Linked DNA regions of Homo sapiens: regions 2, 3 and 4 are each linked to region 1. Evidence: promoter capture Hi-C in 16 types of primary human blood cells and fetal thymus (Javierre and others, 2016). All regions are on one chromosome and are shown on one strand. Each heading gives the region's core, a stretch centred on a gene start or on the middle of the fragment in contact. The rest is flanking DNA. Distances are from core to core; before and after follow the strand shown.

Region 1 (3,544 bases), core at 1-2,500:
CAAGACCCCTTCTCTATATAAAATAAAAATTAAAAAAATTAGCATGGTGGAGCATGCCTGTAGTCCTAGCTACGTAGCTACTTGGGAAGCAGAGACAGGAGGATCCCCTAGCTACTTGGGAGGCAGAGACAGGAGGATCCCCTGAGACCAGGAGTTTGAGGCTGCAGTGAGATATGATTGCACCACTGTACTCCAGACTGGGTGACAAGAGCGAGACCCTATCTTAAAAAAAAAAAATACTCCAAAACATAATGGCCTAAAATAACAACCATTTGTTTTCTCTCGTTTCTGTGGACCATGAATTCAGACAGCATGGTGGGTATGGCTTGTCTCTGCTCCATGATGTCTGGGGTCTCAGCTGGAGTGGTTGAAGGTTGGGGACTGGAATCACCTGAGGCCTTTTTACCCATATTTGTATCTGGACTGAGCCTGGAATTTGATTGCTTCAAAATATTTTCACGGCTGGGTGTGATGGCTCACGCCTGTAATCCCAGCACTTTGAGAGGCTGAGTCTGGCCGTCTGCTTGAGCCCAGGAGTCAGCAACCAGCCTAGGCAACATAGGGAGACCTAGTCTCTACAAAAAAAAAAAAATACAACAATTTGCTGGGCGTGGTCGCCTGCGCCTGTAATCCCAGCACTTTGGGAGGCCGAGGAGGGAGGCTCACTTGAGTCCAGGAGTTCAAGACCAGTCTGGCCAACATGGTGAAACCCCGTCTCCACAAAAAATACAAAAATTATCTGGTTGTGGAGGCTTTCGCCTGTAGTCTCAGCTACTGGGATGGCTGGGGAGGGAGGATCGCTTGAGCCCTGATGGTCGAGATTACAGTGAGCTGTGGTCACGTCACTGCACTCCAGCTTGGGTGACAGAGTGAGACCTTGTCTCAAAAAAAAAAAAAAAAATCCTAAAATATTTTCATGAGTTTGTGCTGGGTAGGCCTAAGGGAAACATGCTCAGTAAATCGAAAAATCTCGGATTACACATAAACCACCGGCCCCGGCAGGTTAGACTTGGTGGACACGGGAGCCAGCAGCGTGTCAGGTGCTCGTTGACCCCAGCGCCAGTGTCTCCATCCACGTCCTTCACTCGTCAACCTTTCCTGGCCCAGGCTGCGGTGTCCCAGCGCCAGGCTCCGCCCCGCCCTTGGCTGCCGGCCAATCGCCGCCGACTGAGAGGCGACTATTGGAGGAAGCGGGATGGGCGGTGCCCGCGCCGGGCCGCTAGGGGTGCGGGGTTGGGGAGGAGGCCGCTAGTCTACGCCTGTGGAGCCGATACTCAGCCCTCTGCGACCATGGCTGTGCTGGCGGCACTTCTGCGCAGCGGCGCCCGCAGCCGCAGCCCCCTGCTCCGGAGGCTGGTGCAGGTGAGCGGGGTTCGTCCCCACAGCACTCAGACCCGGGATGCGAGGAGTCCCCGCCTCGGAAGCTTCCAGCCCGCGGCCGTTGCGGCTCCCGCGGCCCGGGCGCGCGGCTTAGGCCCCAGGACAGTCACGCGACGGGTTCTGGTCCAAAAACCGCCTAAGTGCTCCGATAACACCCAGGGACTCGCCTATTTTTACAGCGCGTTTCTACTTCCAAGGTCTCGGCGTAATCATCTTAATGAGCGTTACTGGTGTGTCAAACAAGGGCACGTGTCTGGGCGGGCAGGACCGCCAGGATTGGCGCTGGCCCGGCCTGAGCGGTGGGATCGGGGAGAGTCTCTTTGCAGGCCTGTGCAGCTGCTCCCGAGATTTTCTTTAAAACATATTTGTGTGCGTTATTGTCAGGAGAGGTTCCTTTTCTTTTTTAATACAATAGATAATCATTGGGCATACAAGGGGAGAGGGCACCATGTGATCATAACAGATGTTTTTTGGAGCAGCCTGAAATTTATCAGGGAAAACAAATGACTACTCAGATAATACAATAAATTATACTTGACATATGAGCAAAGCTCACATACTGAGGGCGTTCCAAGGGCTGTCGCTCTTCTGACCGTTGTGTTTAGGGAACACAGCAGGGGCAGAGTCTCAAAGAATTTATTCTCCACATGCGTAAGCAAGGGAGTACGCACCACAGATTGTCAGGCAAAGCCTCAGGAATAGGTAGAGACCTTCAGGGTGTGGTTGGTGAAGCTTGAGTTTTCTAGGTCGATGGGGGCAATAAGCTTGGAGATCCAGTTATGTTGTGAGTATGGACTTGACCCTAGTTAAGTAGGGATTGTTGATATGTTTGTTTTTGTTGCAATGGTAGGTCACTCTAGTTCTTACGTCTGGGCGTAGAATAACATTACTTGCACAAGGGTGCTGGCGGTAGGAGCTTTGCAAGAGATTGTAAAAGAACCAGTCTAGGACTTGACAATTAGGGAGTGAGGGTGCGAAGCCAAGGGAAAAGAAAGAGTCTAAAATTGATCCTGGGTGACTGAGATAATAGAAAAGTCACAAGGCGTAGGTTTCCAGGGAAGATGAGTTTTTAGCCTATTTGTTAGTCTCATGGGATGAGTGAAGAAATCACAAGAAAGTAATTAGGTTATCTTGGGTTTCAGTCAGTATTGACTAGGTGACATAGGTGAACTAGGTACTCTAGAGATGTAAAAAAAAAAAGTTCAGAACCTTCTTAATTTATGGTTTAATTAAGATCTTACAATCAGGTTGGTTGAGGTGGCTTATGCCAGTAATCCCAGCACTTTGGGAGGCCGGGGTGGGTAGATCATTTGAGGTCAAGAGTTCAAGACCAGCCTGGCCAACGTGGTGAAGCCCCACCTCTATTAAAAATACACACACACACAAAAATTAGCTGGGTGTGGTGGCAGGCGCCTGTAATCCCAGCTACTTGGGAGGCTGAGGCAGGAGAATCGCTTGAACCCGGGAGGAGGGGAAGGTTGCAGTGAGCTGAGATCATGCCACTGCACTCCAGCCTGGGCAACAGAGTGAGACTCCGTCTTAAAAAAAAAGATCTTAAAATGAAACACAAATACTCCTCATGAAAAAAATAAGCCTGTACATGCTGTAATGTATGATATGTGACATTCATATTACTGAACTCTAGGAAGCAGTTGTATTGGACACTTGAATTAAATGGTCATTTACTGAACTATAAACAGGATTTCCAGTTTTCTGTGCTATTTTGTAGAATGGAATTTGACCTCTCATTACATTGGCTCTTTTCCCTTTGCTTACCAGGTCTCTTTTATGGTCAACAAATCTTTATGGACTTTATTGGAGCACATTGCCTTTCTAGCTCTAATCACTTTTCTCTCTCTGGTCAAAGGAGTGGTCTTTACTCATTACCTCCCATGTATTCTGCATCTATTTCTCCTTAACTCTCTGCAGTTAAATTTCTTTGCCACTGAAGCTGAAAAATACAGTGATTTCCTTTTTCTTTGTTTTTTAATTATTTTTTTAAATCTATTTTAATTTTAGTTTTTGTAGACACGGGGTCTGGTTCTGTTGGCCAGGCTGGTCTTGAACTCCTGGCCTGCCAAAGTGCTGGGATTACAGGTGTGAGCCATTGTGCTCAGCCCAAGTTTTTTCTTCTTGACCTTTATCCTATATTTGACACTATTGA
Region 2 (3,263 bases), core at 64-2,563, 510 kb after region 1:
AACAGCTGTGGGGTATTTTCTGGCATGTGGTCTTTGTATCATGAGTGTCAAAATGCCAGGCATTGGTGGCAGTATTTTTCCATTAGAATAGTTCTGTGTTATGGTTGGCCATTTTCCTTTGCTACTTTTGTCCCCATCTGTATGGTTACTGGCTGTTTAGCATTCAAACTCAGCATGCTGGCCCTTTCAGAAATCTTCAGAGTTACCCCCAGGCAGCTGGAAGCTTTTTAGCTGGTTTTTTTTTTTTTTTTTTTTTTTGGTTTTTGGGTTTTTGTTTTGTTTTGTTTTGTTTTTTCTAGCTTAGTTTCTTGGCGTATTGCAAGGTAGTCACTGGTATCCTTAAGGGATGCTCCTGCTGAGTGTCAAGATCACTTCTTCACACTTCTTCCTTTTCTCTGAGATGTTGGTCCCTTAAAGTCCTGACTGCTTTGGCAAGCCTGAACTCCAGTTTTTATCTCTTCAGCCTTATGAAATTGCTGAAGCTCTGCTAGTTTCTCTGTCTCTTAGTAGCAGCCTTCCGCCCAGCTTCTCAGCCTCTCTCCTGAAAAGCTGAAATCAGCAGATGCCCCAAGGGAAATAATGGCACCTATAATAATGAGCTCACATCAATGAGCTGCTCTTTTCGCTTTTATCTTAGCCCCTCAAATAGATCTCACTATTTTGGAGGCTGTCCTATATTTATATCTATCTATATTCATCCTCCCTCTCCCAACTTTCCTGGTTGTTTTCAAGTTGAAGTGGTTGATATGTTCAGGCTACTTCATTATAGCAAGAAGTAGAATTCCTCCACCACCTTCTTTCTTGTTACCATGGTTTTGAACATGCTGTTTCCTTAGTCTTTTCTTCTTTTTGTTACTTATTTTGGAGGATAACTCCTACTTTAAGATTCAGCTCTATCATGACCTACTCTGATAATCAACCTCCAAGTCTAATTTAGATTTGCCTCCTCTATGTTCCCTTGTGCTTATTCCTTAATACATAGTTTTAAAATTATTTAATGCAGTTTTCAACCTATAGACCAAACTCCTTGTGGACAGAGATTTTGTTTTGTAGTTTTATATTCCCAGTGTGTAGGACAAATCTGGCATATAGTAGTTGCTCAATAAATACAAAGTTAAAATTGAAATTCAGCAGTGGCTCAAGCCTGCAATCCCAGCACTTTGGGAGGCCAAGGCTTGCGGATCACGAGGTCAGGAGATCGAGACCATCCTGGCTAACATGGTGAAACCCCGTCTCTACTAAAAATACAAAAAAAAATTAGCCAGGCGGGGTGGCGGGCGCCTGTAGTCCCAGCTACTTGGGAGGCTGAGGCAGGAGAATCACGTGAACCCAGGAGGCGGAGCTTGCAGTAAGCCGAGATCGCGTCACTGCACCCCAACCTGGGTGACAGCGCGAGACTCCGCCTCAAAAAAAAAAAAAAATTGAAATTCAGGCCAGGTGTGGTGGCCCAGCCTGTAATCCCAGCACTTTGGGAGGCTGAGGAGGGTGGATTGCTTGAGCTCAGGAGTTTAAGACCAGCCTGGGCAACATGGCAAAACCCCATCTCCACAAAAAACACAAAAATTAGCCAGGTGTGGTGGAATGCACCTGTAGTCCCAGCTACTCAGGGACTGGGCTACTCCAGAGGCTGAGGTGGGAGGATTGCTTGAGCCCGGGAGGCCAAGGCTGCAGTGAGCTACGATCATGCCACTGCACTCCAGCCTGGGTGACAGAGTGAGAACCTGTTTCAAAAAAAAAAAAAAGTGAAATTCAAAATGCAATAATTTTCTATATGGCTGTCGGACTTGGGAAGGATTTAATGAGAGTAAATAATCAAGAAGTATGCTTTATGCTTCTAGTTCCAAGAATAGACCCAATTGTATGCATGATAAAGAGGACAAATCTTTTTCTTATGGGTTGAATGGTCCTTTCCATTAAAAACTAGGAAGTCCACTCTCCCAGAGCCACACCTTCCAGAGCCACCAGATCTTTGGATAGGCTGTTGTCCCTGTACTAATAGCTCTCTCTTCTCCTGTTATAGTTTTCTGCCAATGTGTTCCAGCCCCCAGGAAAGCCTCACGGGATTGCCTGGAGAGGGTGATGCCATGTGGCTAATCCATATTTTAGGAATCTTGGCTTACATCCACATATTTTATCATTAATTGTTAGTCATTTAACTAGGTTATTGATACTTCAACTTTCTTCACAACACAGCTCACAAAAATGGATACTATTGTAAGTCTCCCTCCAAACTTACATCCCAGCCAATCAAAGTGCTGACATTTTCCTGTTGACTTGATCTTATTGGTGAGTTGACCCAGGCTTTACTTTAGCTATTCTCCTGTCTGGTATTGCTTTCTGTTCTGTCTTTCTTTCACCCATTAGACCTGTTTTAGAGCCTCTCATTTCTATTGTTTTGTCCAAGAAGCTTGTTCCATCTTTTTTGCAGATATTTTAACAAGCTTCCTTTTTCCTAGCCTTACTCATAACACGCTATCAAAGTTAAGCTTCAGTAATTCAAATCCAGTATAGAAATTGCACATAGAAGAAACAATATACTTCAAAAACCACCATTGCTCATTATCTGTGTGTGTGTTTTTTTTAATGCTCATATGTCCATGGGAACTTGGTTCATGCCTATTCTGAACTACGTAAGTTGTCAAGTTCTAGCGCATCATGGACTTTTTATTATAAGTGATTTCTCCTGTACTCCTTTCTTCCATCTCCAGTCAGAAATGATTAGCAGCTCTAATTCTGTTTCTACATTTTCCTGCCAGAAGAAGGCATGTGAATGGAATGCTGACAAGCAGCATTTCAAGATCCACTGATATTTCTTGAAGAAACCAGTCAATAGTTTGTTTCTTGGATACCTCTCCTAAATTAAACCATCTCATAGTTCTCAAGCACATTCTATTGGTGTTGCTCAGAGTTTTGCCAAACATAGGGATGAGTGTGCTTAATTCAACTTGCCTTGATGGATAGACTGGTTTCCACTCCCTCCTACTTCCTTGTCCACCTGGAGAACAGAGTTGGAAATGAGGATTCTTGACCACAGTGGCCCTGGGAGATCTAACCACTGGTATCTCATTTTTTTTCAACTGATCTTTTATGAAAAGGCCATATTCACCTACCAGAATTTAGTTGCCAGTCAGGATAGCCAGTGTAAATAAATCGCGTTGTTTGTGTCTCAGAAACAGAAACGTGTATTGCTGCATTTGGTTCATTACATTCACTTACTCTGGTCAGGGATAAATGTTAACAAGAATGCAAATGGCAACAAAGGT
Region 3 (3,496 bases), core at 104-2,603, 610 kb after region 1:
TTGACCTCCCACCATAGGGAAGAACCTTGTTTTGGCTAATTGTCTTGTTGGGTGTTCAGAAAGTTGACCTCCAGGGAGACAGTGTTAGATAAGAGCATGAACATACAATTAAAATGATTAAATTAAAATTTATTTTTGGAACACTTATTTCCTTAAATGTGAGAATGAAATCTCTAAGCATATGCTTTCTTTTCTTTTTCAGTTTAAACCTTTTTAGAAATGAGACTGGGTAGATTCCATTTTAGCTCAACAAATGTCCTTTTAAAGCTTTCTTAAAAGTAAACATAGGTCAGTTTTAATTAAGATTTGAATGATACCCATAGATTATTCATTGTACCTTAGAGTTGATTCCAGATCCTGTTTACATTGATTTAGTCCTACTTTTTTTTTTTTTTTTAGTAGCTTTTTCTTTTTTTAGTACTGTAAGAACTCACTGTTGGTGTTAAAACACAGATTAGCTAACTTTGAAGCTTATAAGTATACTCTTATAAAAAGATTCCAAGTTCCAAATCAAGATTCTCCTATGTGGGAGCTAGGATGTTTCTGCCTCTTGTCTCTTCACTTTTTCTCTTTCTCTCTTTTTCCCTCCTTTCAGCAGCAGTTACCTAACGGATGCCAGGGACTGTGTTAGGTACTTAGTGACTTTTAGGAACTTGGACTAAGTATTTGTAAAATAAGTACTGGAAAATGATTAACATCTATCAATTTTTTTATAACTTACCATGCACTTTGACTATCATATCTCACTTATTTAAATTCTTACCACAGCCTTGTGTAGTGTTGTTGTCATGTTACAAGTTCAGACACAGGCTTTGACAGGTTCACTTACTTCCTTGCCTAATGTTGCATAGTTAGTGAAGCGCTAGCACTGGAGTCTGTACTTAGGCCCCTCTGACTTGCCTCGGTATGATTGTGCTTGCTTTGATTCCCGTCATTTCTACATTTAGTGGTGGCTTTTAGTGTTCCATTTTCACTTCCCACTTACACTGCCATTCTGCCCCCAGATTCTTATTACCTCATTCTTGGCTCGGGGGGATAAGCTTCATAATTGGTTCTCGTTGTTCTTCTGAGTCATCTTCCTGTGAACCTTGGTCAAATTAGTATTTTTTTTCAAGTGGTTTACCTTCCATGCTACCCTTAAGTTCACCCTTGCAGTTGGGTTTTGTAAGCTAGCCCCTATCCTATTGTCCTGCGAGACCATTCTTCCCAGTTTCCACTTAAACAGTGAAGGATTCCTTCCTGGATTATTTTCTTCCCACTCCAGCATTTCACATCTTTCAAGATGCAGTGCTTATCTTGTCTCTTCTTTGAAGCCATCCCTTACTTCTTCAACCCACTGACCTCTGGATTCCAATGGTCTATTTTGCTAGTATTTTTTTCTTTTTCTTGACATTTCATAATGTAGCCACATGTCTCTTAATTTTTATCTCTTCCATACCTGGTGATTTGTGTTCAGGGGCCTTATGTAATGTTCAGTTGACTTAAACAGAAGGAAGAACTCTAAAGTCAAGACTACTGTACTCCGAATTTTTGCTACCATGAAGTGAAACAATGGTAGCATGATCTCAGATGTTGCCAGCTGAAATAGTTTGGTATATATGCTCATTTGTCTTATAGGTGTCTTTTCTGTTTTTTGGCATCCTGTGCTTAATTCTTTTTTTGTAATCTAAGCTTTGTTCCAATTCAAAAGGAGTTGTTATTGTGTAACATGAAGCTTAGATGCATATATTGAGTTGCTTTATGTATTTTTTTTCCTATTTGAGTTTGGTATGCAGATGACTTCCTGAGGATGTAAATTTTCAGTGGAAAGCTTAAAGCTGGTTTTGGCATGATGTTTATTCTGTAACATGCTGAATCATTATATCAAATATTGAGTCGTTTTCCTTTATCTCCTTCTTTTATACAATATTCAATATTTATAACATCTGCTAACTACTGAATTTTTAAATCTACTTTTGTGGTTGAAGTTTAAACAGCTACTTTTACAGGCCGTATTTATCTTTATTTTAAGGTAGTTACACAGGTAATGAAAGAAATGTGAAATAGGACAGGCTGTTCTTGAAGGTCATGTGAATTGCCCTTTGAACTTGTTATATGATTAGAAATAAGGAGTTTTCAAATTCATAAACAAGTGCTTGTTTATATGGCTCTAACAAATATAATTGTACAACACTGCTAATATGGCAGATTAGTTTCCAGAAATGCTGTTCATAAGACCACTTTTTAAGTCTCTAAGCAGTGTGTGTATCTGTACCTGAACTTGTTAATGGGAGGACTGTCTTTGTGATGGCACTGGATTCAACTTTCACATTTCTTTTCAACACTTTTAAATTGTCCAAGCAAATTTTTGTTTTGACTTTGTTCTTTTCAATGCATATTTTGAAACACGGTTTCAAGTCCAAGGCAACATCTGAGGCTAGTGCCATCTGTTGGTGACAGTTAGAATTAAATCACTTTTGCTTTGATGCGAAGCTTTGTTCTTTACCATGAAAGTGTACATTTTAGGTGAAATGCCGGCTTATTAAGTGAAGACTTCATGAAGTTTTTAGAAAAATTTATTCAGCAAATATTTGAACACCTGCTGTGTGCTAGGCATTGAGAGCTGTTAGCAAAACCAACAGTATTCCCTGTGCATTAATGGGTGGGATGGACAAAAAATGAATATGTGTGCTATGGTAGGGGCAAGATGAAGCAGTGTAAGGGGGATATAGAATTCAGGGAAGGTGGGTGGCATGCTGCAATTTCAGATAGAATGATCAGAGGTGGTCACCATGGAGGGTGTATAAGGCACTCTTCTGTTGTTGCTGGATCATGAACTTTAGAGGTTTTAAGCATTGAAAATATTATTGTTCCTCCTCCCCCATAGGTAATTTGAAATGAAAACAGTATGAAACTTGAAAATAGTAAGAAAGTCCTGAAGTTATTTTCTCCATGATGGCTACTTCACTGCTTTTGTTGAAATAAATTATTTCAAGAACATTAAAAAAAAAAAGTATTCCAGCTTTACTGGTTCTCTGAGCATATGTGTAAGCTGCCAGTTGGTTTATTGAACACTGAGAGCTAGGCACTCTAGGGGGAATGTGAAGATAATTCAGACCTTCTTTGAACCTTGCACTAGCAGGTTGATTGGTTAGAGCAGTGGCACTTCAGTAAATTAAGTGGGAACAGGGATGTCTGCATATTAAGAAATGCCTATTGTTTAGTGAAAGTGAAGTATAAGTATAAACTTACTTATAAAATAAGTGTAAGATTAGCATACAGATTTCATGATGATTTAAATCTTAAGTCTTTAGGACAGTGTTTCTCAAGCCGTCTTTGCTGAAGGGTTAATGTTGTAATTTTGAAGCAATCACAAACCAATGACTTTGTAAAATATATTAAAGTTAAAATATGAGAAAAATGAACCCCTCTTTGCTTCCCTAGTTCTTTTTTTTTTTTTTTTTAACCTTTTTGCTTCTTCCTTTGTCTCCCTCTAGGTTGGATTATTTTATCTTTT
Region 4 (3,626 bases), core at 449-2,948, 580 kb after region 1:
GGGGTGGAGGGAGCGCAGGGCATCCTCTTCCCTACCTCCCACCCCTGTACCACACAAAGAACGAATGGACTGTGGTTTAGCCTTTTGCTTCCCAAACTCAATAAATATTTGTATGAATAAACTCATTTAGCCCATAGAACAACTCATGAAAGAGGTTCTCATATTAGGAAACTCTTTCTCAGAGACTTTGAGGTAGATTATGTCGATGATTTCTCAGTTTAGTAAGTACCAGGCCTGGGATTTATGCTTAGATCTTTCTGACTCTAGAACTCATTCTTGCCAGTGTGCCCTGATCCAGCTGTTTACATCTAATGGATTACATCTAATAGCGCAGACCTGCAGCTCCCATGCAGGGCTTCTAGAATGCATGAGAGCCAGTTACTGGGAGAAGAAAGGTAGATGTCTTCAAATTTGTTGACATTTGTGGTCATGAAGACGAACTAGTATATGCATTTTCTTTCTTTGGACTAGGAGAGATAGACATCCTGTAGTTGTTCCATCACTGCTTTTAGAAAGTCAGGAATCTTAGGTTTGAATTGGACTTTGTCACTAATGACCGTGTACCCTTGGACAAGTCTTTAACTTCTCTAAGCCTCAGTTTCTTCTCTGGTAAAATGGGGTTAATTGTATCTAACTCTTATTTCCTGGAAGTATAATTTTAGGTAGCAGTACCACTTTGATTTGCGGTTTCTTTTTATTCTTAATGTGTTACAATTTACCTTTTTTTTTTTTAATTCTTTTCAGGGGACAAAGTTGATAGAATTTAATGATTTCTACCCTTTCTCTGTGAACCCCATAAATCCTTGTTCTTAGTCAGTGCTAGAAGCTTTCCATGCAATACGTATTAGCCAGCTTGGTTTCTCTCTAATTACTTACAGTGAACTTCATTTGTCACTGTTGGGCCTGACATGGTATACCTGTTTGTTATTTGAGATCTTAAGGTGCAGATGACTTTCTTTTCCCCAGAATATTTCCAAACCTGTTCTTTTTTCCTTTTTTAAATCTAGTATAGAATCGTCAGACATTCCATAAGTCAGAGATACCCTTTTTCTTGGAATAAGCTCTCCTTTGTACCATGTTGTGCAGGAGGAACAGAACAGTTGGACTCAGATCCCTTATGGCTGTCTTTCTGCACCTGCATAACAGACTGCACTGTTCTCCCCCAGTGACATGAAATCTTGGGGATGGTTGTCATAGGTAAGGCTGAGGTATAGGGAGAATAGAAGGAGATACAGGGCGGGAAAAAGAGAGGACTGTGCGATAGTAGAGCGTAACCAACAAATGTCTCCCTTTCTCCACTTCTTGATTATTGTATTGTGAGCAGTGACTAGCATATCAGTAGTCAGAGTTGTAGAGTTTTAGATCCTAAAGGGACATAAATCAGTCAATTGTATAATGTAGAAATAAGAAAATGTAGTAAATAGTGATTTATTTTATCTAAAGTTATACAGCTAATAGCTAATAGTACAACAGGACTAGAACCCAGTTCTTTTGACTCTAAATCTGGTGTTTTTTCTTTCTTCTTCTTCTCTTTTTTTTTTTTTTTTTTTTTTTTTGTGACTGAGTGTCTGTGACTCTGTCGCCCAGAGTGGAGTGCAGTGGCGCGATCTTGGCTCACTGCAACCTCTGCCTCCCGGGTTCAAGTGATTCTCTTGTCTCAGCCTCCTGAGTAGTTGGAACTACAGGGTGCGCCACCATACCTGGCTAATTTTTGTACTTTTAGCAGAGACGGGGTTTTGCCATGTTGGCCAGACTGGTCTCAAACTCCTGACCTCAGGTGATCCACCCGCCTGGATCCCAAAGTGCTGGGGTTACAGGCGTGAACCACTGCGCCTGGCCAAGTTTGGAGTTTTATCTGCTGAAACAGCTTCTAGTGTTCACTCACCAAATATTTGTTGTGCATGTTTTAGGGACACATGACACATGACACATGCCCTCAAATTTAATAAGATAAGGACATATACTGATATTGGTAGTATTAGGATGTATGTTAAATAAGGTAAGAGTGAAACAAAAGATATAGGTCTTAAAAACATAGTTTTTTTAAAAAACTTATTTTTAATAACTTGTAGTACAAAAATAATGCTTACTAACTGTACAGATTCTAGACAATAATGACAAAACAATTAAAATCACCTAAAATCCACCACTTAGAAATGTTTTTTTCGTGTATGTCTGCATATATTTTTTCTAGTTACAAAAATGGGATTGTTCTAAATAAACTTTTTGTAACCTAACTTGTAACATGGAGAACCAGGCTAAGAGAACTGAGGGTGGCTAGGCAGTTGTGAATAGCGTATCACAGACCATGGTAGGACAATAGTGGGAAGGATGAATGAGCAAAGTTTAAGGGACAATTAAAGACCCAACTAGAATGGAGTTGATGGGTTGGAGAATCTGAATTTGAGTGGTAGAAGGCAAATTATTGCTAGAATGGCAGGGCTTTTTTCCTGCCTCTGGCTCTAGTTTGTTTGAAGGTTATTTCAGTGGAAGAATTAACTGGTACACCCAAGCCAATGGACTGGATTCCTATTTTAACTAGAAATACTAGTGAGCTGCAGGATGTGGAGATAAGCTTTCTGATATCAGCTAGACAATCATGACCAATCTGTTGAGTATTCTTGTTTCTGGAGGGAATTCTGGTATAACTGAAAAAGTGGTGGATTTAGAGGTTTAAAGTCTCTGATATTAGTAACCAGCTGATTTTAGGCCAACCTCTTGGGCTCTCAGAAATACTATTTTGTATTGCTACTTCCTACTGGTTGCTTGCTTTTAAGATCTGCAAGTTTATATATTAATACAAAAAATGTTTTTCATAAATTTGGAAGAGCTGCATAAATTAAATATAGTATTGATATTGATGGCAAAAATGAAATTTTGTTTCAGATGCTTGTTATCGGGCGGCTAGACTCTGTTAAAATAGTTCATCATGGTGACTAGTTAATAATACTGTATTGTATTCTTGAAAAATGCTGAGAGTGGATGTTAAATGTTCTCACCACAAAAATGATAACTCTGTGAGGTAATGCATATTTTAATTAGCTAGACTTAACTATTCCACAATGTGTGTATACTAAGACACAATGTGTATACTCTAAGATATCATGTTGTACATGATAAATATAATTTATCGATTTGAAATAAATATGTTTTGAAAACAAATCTGTCTAAATATAGAATTTTAAAGTGTAGATCTTTTTTTTTGAGGTGGAGTCTCACTCTGTCTCCAGGCTGGAGTGCAGTGGCGCGATCTCTGCTCACTGCAACCTCTGCCTCCCAGGTGCAAACAATTCTCCTGCCTTGGCCTCTCGAGTAGCTGGGACTACAGCCGTGTGCCACCACTCCCAGCTAAGTTTTGTATTTTTAGTAGAGACAGGGTTTCACCATGTTGGCCAGGATGGTCTCGATCTCTTGACCTCATGATCCACCTGCCTCGGCCTCCCAAAGTGCTGGGATTACAGGCCTGAGCCACCGCGCTTGGCCTAAAGTGTAGATCTTTTGAAGAACACTTATTTCTTATATGTTTAGCCTTGGGCCTTGAATATTGCTTTTGAAATCTAAAAGCTTGCTCATGGGTAAATAGACTTTGTTCTTGCAAGCATTTTTTAAAAAAGTGAAATGTTCTT

Evidence for each region. The method cuts DNA at HindIII sites, captures the fragments that hold promoters and counts their contacts. A CHiCAGO score of 5 or more calls a contact.
Region 2: a contact is called between a fragment that was not itself captured here and the fragment with the promoter of ACAT1 in region 1, in 13 of 17 cell types (naive CD4 T cells, naive CD8 T cells, megakaryocytes and 10 more). The highest score is 10.3, in naive CD4 T cells.
Region 3: a fragment that was not itself captured here is called in contact with the fragment with the promoter of ACAT1 in region 1 in 3 of 17 cell types (total B cells, total CD8 T cells and activated CD4 T cells); the score reaches 7.8 in total B cells.
Region 4: a fragment that was not itself captured here is called in contact with the fragment with the promoter of ACAT1 in region 1 in 4 of 17 cell types (naive CD8 T cells, naive B cells, total CD4 T cells and 1 more); the score reaches 5.9 in naive CD8 T cells.

The regions. Positions count from the first base shown.
Region 1 is chr11:108,120,317-108,123,860 of GRCh38, forward strand. ACAT1 (acetyl-CoA acetyltransferase 1) reads left to right here and starts at 1,251. Exons shown (of 12, transcript NM_000019.4): 1 at 1,251-1,362. The coding sequence starts at 1,291. RefSeq lists silencers at 913-1,451, 1,053-1,462. The HindIII fragment of the contact is 9,706 bases long and covers 1-1,422 here.
Region 2 is chr11:108,632,389-108,635,651 of GRCh38, forward strand. No RefSeq gene overlaps it. Among named protein-coding and RNA genes, the nearest start is that of DDX10, 31 kb to the right of the region's middle. The HindIII fragment of the contact is 2,184 bases long and covers 222-2,405 here.
Region 3 is chr11:108,732,729-108,736,224 of GRCh38, forward strand. The region is part of intron 13 of DDX10 (DEAD-box helicase 10); the gene reads left to right. The region is part of intron 2 of LOC124902750 (a long non-coding RNA gene); the gene reads right to left. Among named protein-coding and RNA genes, the nearest start is that of DDX10, 69 kb to the left of the region's middle. RefSeq lists an enhancer at 1,044-1,163. The HindIII fragment of the contact is 631 bases long and covers 1,039-1,669 here.
Region 4 is chr11:108,700,145-108,703,770 of GRCh38, forward strand. All of the region lies in intron 9 of DDX10 (DEAD-box helicase 10), which reads left to right. All of the region lies in intron 2 of LOC124902750 (a long non-coding RNA gene), which reads right to left. Among named protein-coding and RNA genes, the nearest start is that of DDX10, 37 kb to the left of the region's middle. The HindIII fragment of the contact is 1,749 bases long and covers 825-2,573 here.